Linked DNA regions of Homo sapiens: region 2 is linked to region 1. Evidence: promoter capture Hi-C in 16 types of primary human blood cells and fetal thymus (Javierre and others, 2016). All regions are on one chromosome and are shown on one strand. The core of a region is centred on a gene start or on the middle of the fragment in contact, and the rest is flanking DNA. Distances in the headings are between cores, read along the strand shown. Region 1 overlaps LOC107984619 (a long non-coding RNA gene). Region 2 holds the start of RFXAP (regulatory factor X associated protein).

Region 1 (7,353 bases), core at 1,248-3,747:
GGTCGCATGCCGAAATACACCCGCTGGTTTTTCTCCAGTATTTTCTCCTTGTACTGTGAAGATGAGCAAATGACCAAAAGAGTGCTCTTTTTTGAAAGAAAAAGGAAAGATGCAATTTTAGAACATTATAGGGTTTTTTTGTTGTTGTTAGGAGGATGCTGGGAGAGGGAGGGAGGCATTGCAGGGCTTTTAAGTTACCTAAAGTCATTCTAGGACAACAAGATTTCTAGAAAATACATATATTAAAGGCAGGGTAGTTCAATGTACAATTTGTTGTGTTTGTGATGCAGAGAGTTAACTAAACCAGTTTGGAAGGCGGGGAAGAAAATTAGGTTATAACAAATACTGAGGCTCCAGCCGATGGCAAAACAAAACAAAACAAAACGAAACCAAAACATTTTACTCTTGATATATTTATTTGACACATTGTTTTAAAAAAACTTTAAGAATTTGTGATATGCTAGATTAGAATTAGAAGTCTTAGTATTGACTTGTGACAGTTTCCAATTGTTATGCAAATAAATGCATCCCTTTGTTATTAGATGAGATTATCTAAAATGAAGACTATATTTAAAGACTAAAATAAAGACTATAATTTTTTTTGTTTGTTTTTTGAGACGGAGTCTAGTTATGTCGCACGGGCTGCAGTGCAGTGGCGCGATCTCGGCTCACTGCAAGCTCCGCCTCCCGGGTTCACGCCATTCTCCTGCCTCAGCCTCCCGAGTAGCTGGGACTACAGGCGCCCGCCACCACGCCCGGCTCATTTCTTGTATTTTTTAGTAGAGACGGGGTTTCACCGTGTTAGCCAGGATGGTCTCGATCTCCTGACCTCGTGATCCCCCTGCCTTGGCCTCCCAAAGTGCTGGGATTACAGGCATGATCTCGCTCTTGTCCCCCAGGCTGGAGTGCAATGGCACGATCTCGGCTCACTGCAACCTCTGCCTCCCGGATTCCGGCGAGTCTGCTGCCTCAGCCTCCCGAGTAGCTGGGGTTACAGGGGCCCACCACCATGCCCAGCTAATCTTGTATTTTTAATAGAGATGGGGTTTCCCCATGTTGGTCAGGCTGGTCTAGAACTCCTGACCTCAGGTGATCCACCCACCTCGGCTTCCCAAAGTGCTGGGATTACAGGCGTGAGCCACCGCACCGGGCCTATTTTTATTTTTTGATTATTATTTTAGATTATTTTACTCTCAGATGATATTATTATCCCTGTATCAATCGCGGCCCTGTAGGAAACTCGTGATATATTCTTAGCAGAGTGCTTAATCAAGGATTATTTAAGTTTTTCTTAGGGTTTAGGGAAACAAGAAGGGGTAATGCAGCTCTCACAGCTCCTGAGCCTAAGGGGCAAGGCCAGGGAGGATAGCTGATGCCGGGGGCTGCCAGGCAGAAGCTGTGTAGTTTTTGTTTGTTTTAAACTTGTTTTTAGGCCAGGGGCAGTGGCTCATGGCTATAATCCCAACACTTTGTGAGGCCGAGGTGGGAGTATCACTCGAGCAGGAATTGGAGACCAAGACCAGCCTGCACAGCGTAAGGAGACACCGTCTCAAAAATAAAAAAATAAAAAAAAAAAAAAAATTTGCCAGGCAGTGGTGCGTGCCTGTAGTCCTAGCTGCTCAAGAGGCTGAGGTGGGAGGATCGCTTGAGGCCAGGAGTTCGAGGCTGCAGTGAGCTATGATTGCTGCTGCACTCCATTCTGGGCTAGTGAGATCCTGTCTCCAAAAAGCAAGACAAAACTGCTTTCAGATGGCAGGTGAATTCCATTTATATGAAGGCTGTCATGTCTACTCATCCTATTAATCATTCATTTTCATAAAATAGAGTTTTGACCTCATGGATTTGACAGAAGCTTTCTTGAGATGGCTGTAATATTTGGTGGACTCAGAGCATAGTAGATATTTCTGAAGACAGGTACTTAATGATATGAAAGGGTTTCACTTTGTGGGGAGATGGTTACTTCAGTTATATTTGGCATTTTTATGGCTTTCCCTTTTTGTAAAACATTTTGCCATAACTTCCATTCATCATCCTCATAGTCTTTAGATTCATAGACTATTTGAGCTGGAAAGGCCCTTAGCAGTCGTTTAACTTAGACCCTCGTTTTACCCGGGAAACATCTATTCTGAGATTTTATTTCTCTGATTCCCTAGTATTGGACTTTAGATTGTATCCACAAAAGATTGAATTCCTGTCTGGTGCTCTAGCCAGACACCACTCTCTCCAAATCCTGGCGTCAAGGAGCGGGGCTTAGGGGGATTGAGTGCAGAGAAGATTCAATTATTTTTATTTATTTATTTATTTATTTATTTATTTATTTATTTATTTATTTTGAGATAAGGTCTCCCTCTGTCACCCAGACTGGAGTGCAGTGGCGCGATCTCAGCTCACTGCAATTTCTGACTCCTGGGTTGGAACGATTCTCGGGTCTCAGCCTCCTGACTAGCTGGGATTTTAGGTGTGCGCCACCGCACCCAGCTAAGTTTTATGTTTTTAGTAGAGATGGGATTTCACCATGTTGGCCAGGCTGATCTTGAATTCCTGACCCCAAGTGATCCGCCTGCCTCAGCCTCCCAAAGTGCTGAGATTACAGGCGTGAGCCACCGTGCCTGGCCAAAAAAATATTCTCTTGTATTTTTGGTCAGTGTTCACAGCATAGCTGCATAAACATAGTAGTAATTTTTCTACGTGAAGTTTTTTTTTAAAAAAATTCATCATATATAATCATTTCTAGAAAGTGATGAGCTTAACCTGTTTGGGGTATTTGAACTAACCATGTGTTCCTGTATGCTTTCATTTTTGCATATAGTCATAAACTCTGATGGATTCCACATGAAAATTGCTTTGTGCCCCTCAACAAGTGTATTTATAGTCATGCAGATTCATATGTATGTTCCCTCAGAGTATATCTGATGCCGCATGCAAAAATATCCTAAATAATTACATTAACACTTCATATATTAATATGAAAGCAAATATGAATTTTAACTCACCCACACTGTAAAGCTGAATAACTTGGAAAAACACTGACTACTTGGAAAATCACTGGAACAAATAATCAAAAAATCAATTTGCAAACTTCTAGAAGACCACAGGGCACTGGGTAATCATCCCACATTACTTTGTGAAAAACAAAGCTTATCAGATGAATCTAATTTCCTTTTGTCGCAGAGTGACAGCCATGGTAGATGGGGGAGCAATCAACATAATCTATCCTGATTTAAGAAAGCTTGGGATTTTGCAACTTGTTGTGTACTCATTAAGAAAATGTAGGTATGGCCGGCATGGTGGCTCATGTCTGTAATCCTAGCACTCTGGGAGGCCGAGGTGGGTGGATAGCTTGAGCTCAAGAGTTCCAGGCCAGCTTGGGCAAAAAAGCGAGACACCCTCCCAACCCCGGCACCGTCTTCTACCCCTCCCCGCCGCCCGTCTCTACAAAAAACACAAATCGCTTCCTCCTGCCCCTCGTCTCTACAAAAAACACAAAAAAATAGCTGGTGGTGCACGCCTGTAGTCCCAGCTACTCAGGAGGCTGAGATGGGAGAATGGCTTCAGCCTGGAAGGTAGAGGTTGTAGTGAGCCGAAATCGCACCACTGCACTCCAGCCTGGGAGACAGAGCCAGACTCTGTTTCAAAAAAAAAAAAAAAAAAAAAAAAAAAAGAAAGAAAGAAAGAAAGAAAATGTAGGTAAGACTATTCCTGTTTCATAGGGATACAGTCAAACTGAAGTTGGGGGCTCAGCTTTATGCAAATAGGCAACTTCAACACAGTATGTGCAAAAGTGACCTCTTTCTCCTTCCCAAGTCCTTTTCTACTTGGATTACTTATTTTTTAGTGTCATCCAAGATCTCCTTGTTTGAGTTACTTAATCTCTCTGTTCCTCAGTTTTCTAGAATCTAACGTGGGGATAAGAATGGGACCTACTTCATAGGGTTGTGAAGATTAAATGACATAATGCGCATAAAAGGCTTAGCCCAGTTTAAGGCCATCACCGTCATCATCATCACCATCATCATCATTGTCATCATTGGCATGTTTAGTCCCTCTTTCTCCTCCACTCGCACCACGTCTAATTAAAGCTTATTTTATTTTACTATTTATTTATTTTATTATTTTATTAAATCTTATTTCTACCTCTTCAGTTATGCTCACATATATTCTTATCTACTTCCCTGGCCACTCTGCTGGTTTAAATCATCTTGTTCTCTGGACTATTGCAATAGGCACCACACTGGTTTCCCTGACCCCATCTTGCCCATCTTCTCTATCTTGCATTCTCCTGGCTGTTACAGCGCAGAGCTGAACATGCTGCTTCCCTGCCCTAAACCCGAAGAGCTTTGTCTTGCTGAGTGCTCCCAATCTGCCTTTGCAGCCTAATTCCTACCTCTTCCCTCCATGTATCCTAGATTCCTGTTAATTTCACACTGTTTCCTGTATCTGGCCTTTACTCAATTTTTCTTCTACTTGAGACGCTCTTATGCCCTTTCTCTAAATATCTACATCTTATCCATCCTTTAAGGCTCAATTCGAACATCACATGGTTCCTATAGCTTCCCTTACCTCTCCTGTGGATGCTGGTTGCTTCTGATTCCCATGGCATCTTGTGTACTTCTCTTCCTATACTTACTCCTTTCTAAAGTTAGGTCCTAGCTTAGATGTCATTTCTGCCCTGACTGTGGGTGAGATGCTTTCTCTGCACATTTCCCTCTCATTGCATTTACCACACTTGTTGTGGCCCTGCTAGATTTTACTCTCCAAGGCCAGTGCCGTGCACACAGTAAACACTTAATAAGCATGTGTTGAAGGATGTGTGAGCAGGACAAGGACTTTATTGATTGGAATACCTTAAGTTTCAAGTTACAGAAAGCCATTGGAACTCCACTAGGGGAGGATTGTTGGCTAATGTAACCAAACTGTGTGAAGTAGAATGGGATGGCTGGCCTTGGGGACAATCAGAATCAGTGTTTTCTCTCTGTGTGTCAGATTTATTCTTAGCTATCATGGACCAACTGCTTCCACATGGCAAGGGATCTGGGCACTCTGGCTCAGTACTCATTCCTCCCAGCTTCCCCACCCGAGAAGGAAGGTCTTTCTTAGTTTCTGTTGGAAAGTGCTGGGGGAATGTGACCTCGCCTAGGCCCTGGGCCCTGCCTAGGGTTGATGAATATGGGGTATTATGATTGGCAGCTCCTATTAGAACCACAAGGTAGAGAGGAAGGATGAACTGGTATTAAAGTTAAGCCAGAGAAATTAAAATAGTGGTAGTTTAACATAAAGAGTGGTGATTTACCATATTTACAAGGTTGCACAACTTTGTAAACATACTAAAAAGCCCTGAATTGTAAAAGACTGAATTGTATGGAATCTGAATTATATCTCAATTAAGAAAAAATTAAGCCAGAGATGAAATCTTGCTGGCAAAAATAAGCATTTCTATATTCTTTATATTTGGGCTATTCATGTATTCAGCAAACATTTACAGTGTGTCTAGTATGTGCTGGCAGTTATCTAGATTTACACTGTAGTGGGAAATAGCACACGCACAAACACACAAAAAGGGTAAGAGGGTTGGATTTCATTCTAAATGTGATGGGAAAGCTCTGGAGGTTTAGGGGTGGAGAGAGGTCCACCCCCTGGATGAGGACCTTCTGGACTCTAGGGCCTTCTGGCTGGTGCTCTGCTGTGGTCAGCACAAACCACACCTTGGAAGGAAGATGAGACTGTTTTAAGAGGTCTCTTGAGATGGATTCCAGAACCCTCATTTTCAGAATTTGGCAATTTTGTCCTAAAATAAAGTTTTCCTTGTGGACTAACCCAGATCACAGTATGCTTTGCTTTAAGGCTATTTGCCCAGATTTAGCAAATCTGCAATATTTGAGGGCACAGTTTCAAGACTGCCCTCACTTCTAACACCAACTGCAAGTTTGGGGGAGTTTCCAATACCACCCTCAGGTTTGATGATGTTCTAGAAAGATTCCAATAACTCAGTGGAAGCTGCAATATTCACAGTTATGGTTTACTGCAGGGAAAAGACAGAGACTGAAATCAGCCAAAGGAAGGGACAGAGTCTGGGAGGGTTCTAACTGCAAAACTTCTGTTGCCCTCTTTCCATGTGGAGTGTGTGGGCCCTCCTGATACTAATGTGTGACAAGATACATGCAGTATTGACAACCAGGGAAGCTCACCTGAACTTTGTTATCCAGAGTTTTTATTGGGGCTTCATTATGTACGCATGATTGATTGATTGTCTGTGTGATTGAACTCAGCCTCCAGCTTGAGTGATACCATGTGACACAAAGCCCCCACTCTAAGGCACATGGTTGGTCTTTCTAGCACGACTACCTCCCACCCTAAGACTACTGAGTATGGCCAGCCCCACCCTACAATCTGAAGGGATCAGCCCCTGCCTTAAACAAAGATCCTCCTATGAGAAATGACATAGATTTCATCCCAGAAGATGAAGGCAAAGGCCAGACCTCTCTTTGGGCAAAGCCAAATTCTTTTTTTTCTTTGTTTGTTTTTTGAGATGGAATCTCGCTCTGTCACCCAGGCGAGAGTGCAGTGGCGTGATCTTGGCTCACTGCAACCTCCACCTCCTGGGTTCAAGTGATTCTCCTGCCTCAGCCTCCTGAGTAGCTAGGATTACAAGCATGCACCACCACACCTGGCTAATTTTTGTATTTTTTAGTAGAGATGAGGCTTCACCATGTTGGCTAGGCTGGTTTTGAACTCCTGATCTTAGATGATCTGCCTGTCTCAGCCTCTCAAAGTGCTGGGACTATAAGTGTATGCCACGACACCTGGCCTACCACTCATTATTTCTTCCAGTTTTCTTTTCAGTAGAGATGAAGGAAGAAGGATTGTCTATTGCCACAAACTGTTTGCCAAAAGATAGGTAAGTGTTCAGAGCAGCAGCTCAGGGGAAACCTGGAACATGCTGGTTCTGACCTCTCTCCATCTTTTCTCCCAACTTTCCAAGGGGAAGTTCCCAAAAGAGGGGTAAGGAGGGGCTGGGAGGAGCAGCAGCTTTTATGGGAGGCCTGCCTTGTGTGCCCTGAATTTTAAAATGGAAACAGTAGGTCCTTGGGGTGAATCTGATGCTGGGGATTTCTGCGTCATCAGAACTGCAGGTTAGTTGCGGGGATGACGCCCGCATTAGGATTTCCACTGGAAGCTTCAAAGCAGTTGCAGAATTGGAATGCTGCTGTGTGCAGCAAAGGGGGGCCTGTCAGAACTTTGCCTAGATGTTGCAGCACTTAACAGTGGACCTGGGGAGCTCACCTTGCTGTTGTCAGGGAAGCCCCCAGTGGGTTTTGGCTCTGTTGGCTGAACACCTGCAGCCCGTGCAGTTGC
Region 2 (7,353 bases), core at 2,247-4,746, 8.1 Mb after region 1:
AAGTCATGCAAATTATTTTAAAATAGTGAAGCTAGGTGCAGTGGTGAAATAATCCCAGTTACTCTGAAGGCTGAGGCAGGAGGATCACTTGAGCCCAGGAATTCGAGGCCAGCCTGGGCAACACTGTGAGACCCATCTCTAAAAAATTAGATAAGTAAATAAATAACAAAATAGTAATAAGGTTCTTTTTGTGGGAGGTGCAGAGGGAGACGCTAATTCAGTATCTATCTGCCTTTTATACATTTTCCTCACTGTAGATGTAAATGTTAGGTAGTTTAAAAAAAAAAAAGTAAGCAGCCATAGGTTAACTACTTCTTTCTTGAAAATAAGTATTATTAGGCCGGCGTGGTGGGTCTCACCCGTAATCCCAGCACTTCAGGAGGCTGAGGTGGGAGGATCAGGAGTTCGAGACCAGACTGGCCAACATGGCAAAACCGCGTCTCTACTAAAAATACAAAAATTAGCCGGGCGTGGTGGTGCATGCCTGTAATCCCAGCTACTCAGGAGGCTGAGGCACAAGAACTGCTTGAACCCAGGAGGTGGAGGTTGTAGTGGGCCGAGATCGCACCACTGCACTCCAGCCTGAGCGACACAGAGTAAGACTCTGTCTCAAAAAAAAAAAAGAAAGAAAAAAAGTATTATTTTTCTCCCTCTCTAAAGAATTCTGAAGTGAATGGGCACCTGTGGAACATACTGAGGAAGAAACTTGATCACCTTTACTAACTTTCATTCTTTTCCAGATGCTTATTTCCCTAAATCCCCGTAATCAGAGATTTGGTAAAACATACTATAAGAATATGGATTGAGGGGGTTTTTAAACTAAGATTACAGAAGTCCTGAGCCCATTAATTAGTATGCAAAATTAAAGTTACATAGTGGATTTTTCTAGGAAGAGTCTTCATTAAGTCACCAGACCCTCAAAGAAGTCCTCTTACTCCAAAAGAGTAAAACTTAAGGGAAAGAGAAGTCACTCAGTCCTAACCAGTGTGAATTAAGTATGACACACTGGCAACTGCAAATTTTAGAAATATTTAGAATATTATACTTTTTGTTTTTGAGACAAAGTCTTGCTCTGTCACCCAGGCTGGAGTGAAGTAGCACAACCATGGCTCACTGCAGCCTCAATCTCCTGGGCTCAATGATCCTTCCACCTCAGCCTCCCGAGTAGCTAGGACCACAGGCATGTGCCAACATACCTGGCTAATTTTTAAAATTTTTTTGTTGAGATGGGGTCTCCCTATGTTACCCAGGCTGGTCTCAAACTTCCGGGCTCAAGCGATCCTCCCTCCTAGGCCTCCCCAAGTTCTGGGCTTACAGGTATTAGCCACTGAGCCTGGCCTAGAACATTACATTTGTAAACAATTACAAGGTCTAATATTTTAGTGATGGAGCACTTCAAGTTCAGCCTGAAACTAAGAAATTTAAAGACTTAGAATACATCCTAGGACCCTAAGACAGCTTGCAGTTAAAAAAAATTTTTTTTTTTTTTTTTTTTTTTTTTTTAAGGAGACAGGGTCTTGCTATGTCATCCAGGCTGGAATGCAGTGATGCAAACAAGGCTCACGGCAGCCTCGAACCCCTGGTCTCAAGCAATCTTCCCACTTCACCCTCCCAAGTACAGCTGGGTATACAGGCACTTGCCACCATACCTGGCTTGGATCACTTGTAACAAAATTAAATTTTTCTCTACACTAAGGGATTATATAGCTCTCACAAGAAGAAATATCTGCTTATTTGTGACAGCCTCAAAGTATACCACTAACAATGACAATAATAATGGGTAAGGTTTGCAAACTTTAGCCAGTTGCTGGACACTGTGTGAACCCTCAATATGGAATGGCTCACATATTCACAGCAACACTATGAATGACACACGATTTTAATGCCCATTTTACAGAGTTTAATAACCTATTCAAGCCACAAGGCCAGTAAATGATGCAACAGGGATTTGCACCCAGAAGTCGAACTCCAGAACACTGGTTTTACCTTTGACTCAGTTCAAATCAAACAATCCAAAAGTTTTTTGAGACTTATACCCCATTATCATCCTTTTTTTCCCCCCTCAGGGGTACTAAGAAAAGGGGTAGTGAGAACAGGGTACTAACAACAAGGATACTGAGAACAAAGTATATTAAGTATTGGGGTAGTGAGAACATGAGAACAAGGGACTAAACATAGGGGTACTGGGAACAGAGTTGTAAGAAAAGAGTACTACGTACAGGGGTACTACAGACAGGCAACTGAGTATAGCAGTACTAAAAATACGGTACTAGGAAGAGGGTTAACAGAACAGGACACTAAAAACAAAGTACTAAATACAGGAGTATTACAAATAGAGGTACTGAGAACTGGGTACTGAGAACTGGATACTGAGAATAGAGTAGTGAAAACAGAAAGAGATGACTTTCTCAGAAGTACCAACTTCATCTAGGTTCCTAAGTCTCCTTTAGCGATGAACCAGACCGATCATTTACTCTATGTCCTTCCAGCCATATCCCAGATCTATGACAGCTCTGCCGATGTCACATTATTTTTACTGAAATTTCTGCACCTATCATGAGTTCAACAGAACTGTTATTGCTTTGCACATGTTGGTATAAACTTTAATTTAGGGCAAACACTCTAATTCTCAACCACTAACCCAGTCACTGCAAACCGGCCCATTTGGAAGTGGGGAGGCAGGCCCTGCAGATGCGGTTTGCGTTAAGATCGGGTTTCTTCTTCCACCTCCCATCCCCAGGCCTCAGCTAAGTCTGATACCTCGAGTTTGACGTTTCCCGCGCTGCCAGTCGAGGCAGTCCCACCGCAGTTCAGGGCCTGGTCGCTCTTCTTCTTTTTATACTTGTCCTTGTACATCTTGTTGCGGTGTTTCTTGCACATCCACGGTTTGCGCTGCTTGGCCACCTGGCTCGTGGTCTCGCTGCAGCCTTCGTAGGTGCAGGTCTTGCTCATGCTGCCCCCACCGCTGCCCCGCCTCCGGGCGCCCCCGCTGCTGCCCTCGCCCCCCGAGTGAGTCTCCTCGTCCTCTAGATCCTCCAAACTAGCCGCGCTCTCGCCTCCCCCCGGAGGGTCCGAAGTGTCTAACAGGTCCGCCTCGTCCTCCCCAGCCTCCTCTTCGCCATCCCCGGCCCCTTCGCACAGGTACCTAACGGGCTTGCCCGCCCCAACGCTGCCCCCGGGGGCCGCAGCCTCGTCCTGCCCAGCACAGGGTTGCATCACTAGCAGGGTGAATTGAGAGGCCGCGGCCGCCACCGAGGCTGGCGCCAAGGTGGGAGCCGCAGCCGGGGCTAGGGCCGCGGGGTGGGGCACGCCGCTGGCGGCGCCCGGCCCCGCGCCCTCCGCTACACCCTGCGCCTCCATGCTGCTAAGACCTGGCCGGGGTCCACGACCCCGGGCTTTTAGCACCTGCTTGGCCTAACGGCACTTCGCGAACCAAAGACTCAGGACACGCTGGGGTAAAAGGCGCCTATACCGGGAAGGCGCCCCGACTGCGCCTGCGCGACCGCAGCCTGCGCGTCAGCGTGTGTACGCCCGCGGGCTGTCAGGGAGCGCGGCGCCTCTGGGGGCGGGGCTGAGCGCACAACCAACGGGACTGACTGCGCATGTGCGGCCGCGGCCCCTTCGGCCAGCTGGGGGATTCGTAGACAGGGTCTGGGGGCTGTGTCAGGTGAAAACCTGCAGTGGCTGGCAAGGCAGCGCCGTTTTACCTGATCCTATTGTATCTAAAGCGGTTCAAAGTATCTTCTACAGGAGTTCCAGTATGCAAATTAGGATTGTTCCTGAGCGGTCTCACGACTTGTAGTGTTAGGATGCTAATTTTATTATTTCCCCCACAAACTGCCTGCAAGGGGAGATTTGAAGCTGGGATGCAGTGGTGTCACAGCCTAGAGTCACTAGCTCGCAGTCCATGAAGGCAGAGGTGGCTTATTTGAAAATAGTGGAGCGGAGAGGGATGGGCCACACCTTTGGCCGAGTTGTATTTGCATTGAGGGATAACTTTGTTTTTTTTCTCCTGGAAACTCACTTGATTGTTAGTACTTGCTCTTTGCTGTGGCTGCTGAGATAAGTCTTAACGTTTTCGTTTAACACAGTGAAAATGTGTGAAAAGGAATACTGAATGGCAAACGTTTAAAAAAACAATGAATGTTCTACCAGTTCTATCAGTTGCTGGGCAATTGCTGGTTGTTAAATCTTGGCTTGCCCAAATCCCAGGAGAGAAAATATCCTGCCGTATCCTGAACTGTTAAGTAGATGTTCTTTTTCCCTTCATCCTATTCTTTCGCCTAGTCAGATTTCCCATCCCACCTACCGGAAAGCAATGACTTTATTCAACAAACTATAAATCCATTCACACTAAGATGTTTGGGTGCTGACATATAGGTAGATCAGTTATGTTTTAAAGAGAGGCATATGGAAGGGAGAAGGTTTGGAATTAGAGCAACCTAGGTAGTACTTCCTGTGTGACTACAGCAAGTTCGTGACAGCCTCTCCGAGCCTCAGTTTCCTCATCAGTAAAGCCTGCAGTCGGTGGTGTGCTAGCGCCAACTGATGGTAACTGGTTGCTAAAATTTCAGGAATATAATTAGCAGAAAAATTAAACACTGCTATTATTAAAAGTCTTACTACATAAACTTACAATAAGATTATATTAAAAACAAAGGGTACAAATCTCAAAACTCTTCATTTTCTAATTATTTTATTATGTTTTATCATTATCTGTGCTTTTAAGGTTATTTATGTCTATTGTATCTGTATGCGGAAATATTATTTAGTGGTGTGTTACTGCACATTTTCCCAACTCTGCCTTCAGTATGTCATGTTGATTGCTTGAAATCAGCCACTTTTGGAGTATTTACACCAGGGAAATGATCAAATGCTACGAAGCAGGTTTACACTTATTGCTGATTGTCTCTGCACTTAAGAAAGTGACAGTGAAAATGTTAATGAAGATTAAATTTAAGGCCAGGCTCAGTGGCTCCCACCTGTAATCCCAGCGCTTTGGGAGGCTCAGGCAGGTGGATCACGAGGTCACGAGTTCGAGACCAGCCTGACCAACATGATGAAACCCCGTCTCTACTAAAAATACAAAAATCAGCCAGGTGTGGTGGTCCACACCTATAATCCCAGCTACTCAGGAGGCTGAGGCATGAGAATCGCTCGAACCCAGGAGGAAGAGATTGCAGTAAGCCAAGACTGTGCCACTGCACTCCAGCCTGGGCAACAGAGTGAGACTCCATCAAAAAAGAAAAAAAGAAAAAGAAAAAGATTAAACTGAAAATGTATTCTATCTGCAGCTCTCACATTGTGAATATCCAACCCCCCCAACTGAGAAAATATTCTTTCAGTATTTGAAAACTATCATGCAATTCAGCAAAGAAACTGCTTACATCACATCATTGAACAAGTGAAGACCTTATATACATCTTCATTGTTTCACTTTTGTTTTTTCTCAATATAAACAAAAATGTCTATCAACATTCATGTCAAAACTTTATGTCCTTGCCATCATCAAAAAAAAGAAAAAGAACAAAAAGTACACTTTACTTCTTTACTGAATTGGACAGAAACCAAGCATTTATTCCTTTTTTTAAATGAAAAAATATAACTTTATTCATAAATAATGTTACTTTTTTTCTTCGACTTTTATTTTAAGCTCAGGGATACATGTGCAGGATGTGCAGGTTTGGTAGATAGATAAACACGTGCCATAGTAGTTCACTGCACAGATCATCCCATCACCTAGGTATTAAGCCCAGCATTCATCAGCTATTCTTCCTGATGCTCTCCCTCCCCCACACCCACCTTTAACAGGCCCCAGTGTGTGTTGTTCCCCATTGTGTCCATGTGTTTTTATCGTTCAGCTCTCACTTATCAGTGAGAAGATGTGGCGTTTGGTTTTCTGTTTCTGTGTTAGTTTGCTGAGGTTAATGGCTTCCAACTCCATCCATGTCGCTGTGAAGGACATGGTATCATTCCTTTTTGTGGCTGCATAGTATTTCATGGTGTATATGTATCATATTTTCTTTATTTAGTCTACCATTGATGGGCATTTAGGTTGCTTCCATGTCTTTGCTATTGTGAATAGTCAAGCATTTATTCTTTTTTTTTTTTTTTTTGGAGACAGAGTTTCACTCTTGTTGCCCAGGCTGGAATGCAGTGACATGGTCTTGGCTGACTGCAACCTCTGCCTCCTGGGTTCAAGTGATTCTCCTGCCTCAGCCTCCTGAGTAGCTGGGATTACAGGCACCCGCCACCACGCCCGGCTAATTTTTGAATTTTTAGTAGAGACGGGGTTTCACCGTGTTGGCCAGGCTGGTCTCGAACTCCTGACCTCAAGCGATCTGCCCACTTCAGCCTCCCAAAGTGCTGGGATTACAGGCGTGAGCCACCTCGTCTGGCTGCATTTATTCTTATTTTGAATTTGGGACACTGTTGTTGGTGAATTCATAAAAACTGATAGTGATTTTCATAAGAAGTCAAGTCACCTTGAAGTTATGGATGTATAGAATTTACAGTATTGAGTATTGTATATTTTATCAATGTTTGTGAATCACGTGCTAATATTCTTTATCTCAGGTAGTGACACACCCAGAACCCCAGAATTGGCATAAAGATTATTTTAAGCTGAAGACACTTGAGATTCAATTGATACAGAAAGAAGCCTTCTCAGAGCTTCCTTTATCTGACTAGAAGCTGAAACTTCTGATAAATGAAGACCATCATAAATTCCCTCTTGAGGAAAGCTACTACCAGGAGAGAGACCAAGAGTAAATCTACCATAAATACCCCATGACCATGAGTTCAGAAAACCTACATAAACATATATTATCACAAAATGCCTTATTGCTCATTTGTTCTCCTAAAACCACATTTGTTTTTCCTAAAGGAACCTATTTGTTCATCCCATAGGAACATTTACTCCGTCTTCCCTTTCCTTACTAATTTAGGTATATAAGCCTCAAATTCTAACCATCCATTTCAGTAACTCATCTCTGAGCCCTCCTATGTACATGTAGTTCTTGTAAATAAACCCTTTTCTTTTACTAATCTATCTTTTGTGAGTTTAATTTACAAGCTCCCAGGCAAGAAACCTAAGCAGGTGGGAGAAAAGTTTTGTTTCATTTCCAGCCATCAGTTAACTGGTTAAAAATTTTTTTTACCAGCATATTACTCGGAGCAGTATTATTTAAATCTTAGTACAAATACCTGTTATGGTGTTCAATAAGTGGCAGTAAGCTTAAAAAATAAACCTACTTTTTTTTGAGGTATGATTTTGCTGCGGTTTGAACATGTCCCTCAAAAGTTAATGTGTTGGAAACAATTGCCATTGTTAACAGTATTAGTAAGTGGGGC

What was found. Contacts are between HindIII fragments. The CHiCAGO score rates a contact against its expected background, and 5 or more counts as called.
Region 2: the fragment with the promoter of RFXAP here is called in contact with a fragment that was not itself captured in region 1 in 1 of 17 cell types (total CD4 T cells); the score reaches 6.9 in total CD4 T cells.

What each region holds. Positions count from the first base shown.
Region 1 is chr13:44,910,295-44,917,647 of GRCh38, reverse strand. All of the region lies in intron 1 of LOC107984619 (a long non-coding RNA gene), which reads left to right. Among named protein-coding and RNA genes, the nearest start is that of TRE-TTC2-1, 4.0 kb to the left of the region's middle. The HindIII fragment of the contact is 1,285 bases long and covers 1,855-3,139 here.
Region 2 is chr13:36,815,365-36,822,717 of GRCh38, reverse strand. It overlaps RFXAP (regulatory factor X associated protein), which reads right to left and starts at 3,496. Exons shown (of 3, transcript NM_000538.4): 1 at 2,761-3,496. The coding sequence starts at 3,360. It overlaps LOC124903158 (a long non-coding RNA gene), which reads left to right and starts at 3,647. Exons shown (of 2, transcript XR_007063760.1): 1 at 3,647-4,551; 2 at 6,577-7,047. RefSeq lists silencers at 418-632, 3,209-3,578 and enhancers at 2,689-2,918, 2,929-2,978. The HindIII fragment of the contact is 8,641 bases long and covers 1-7,238 here.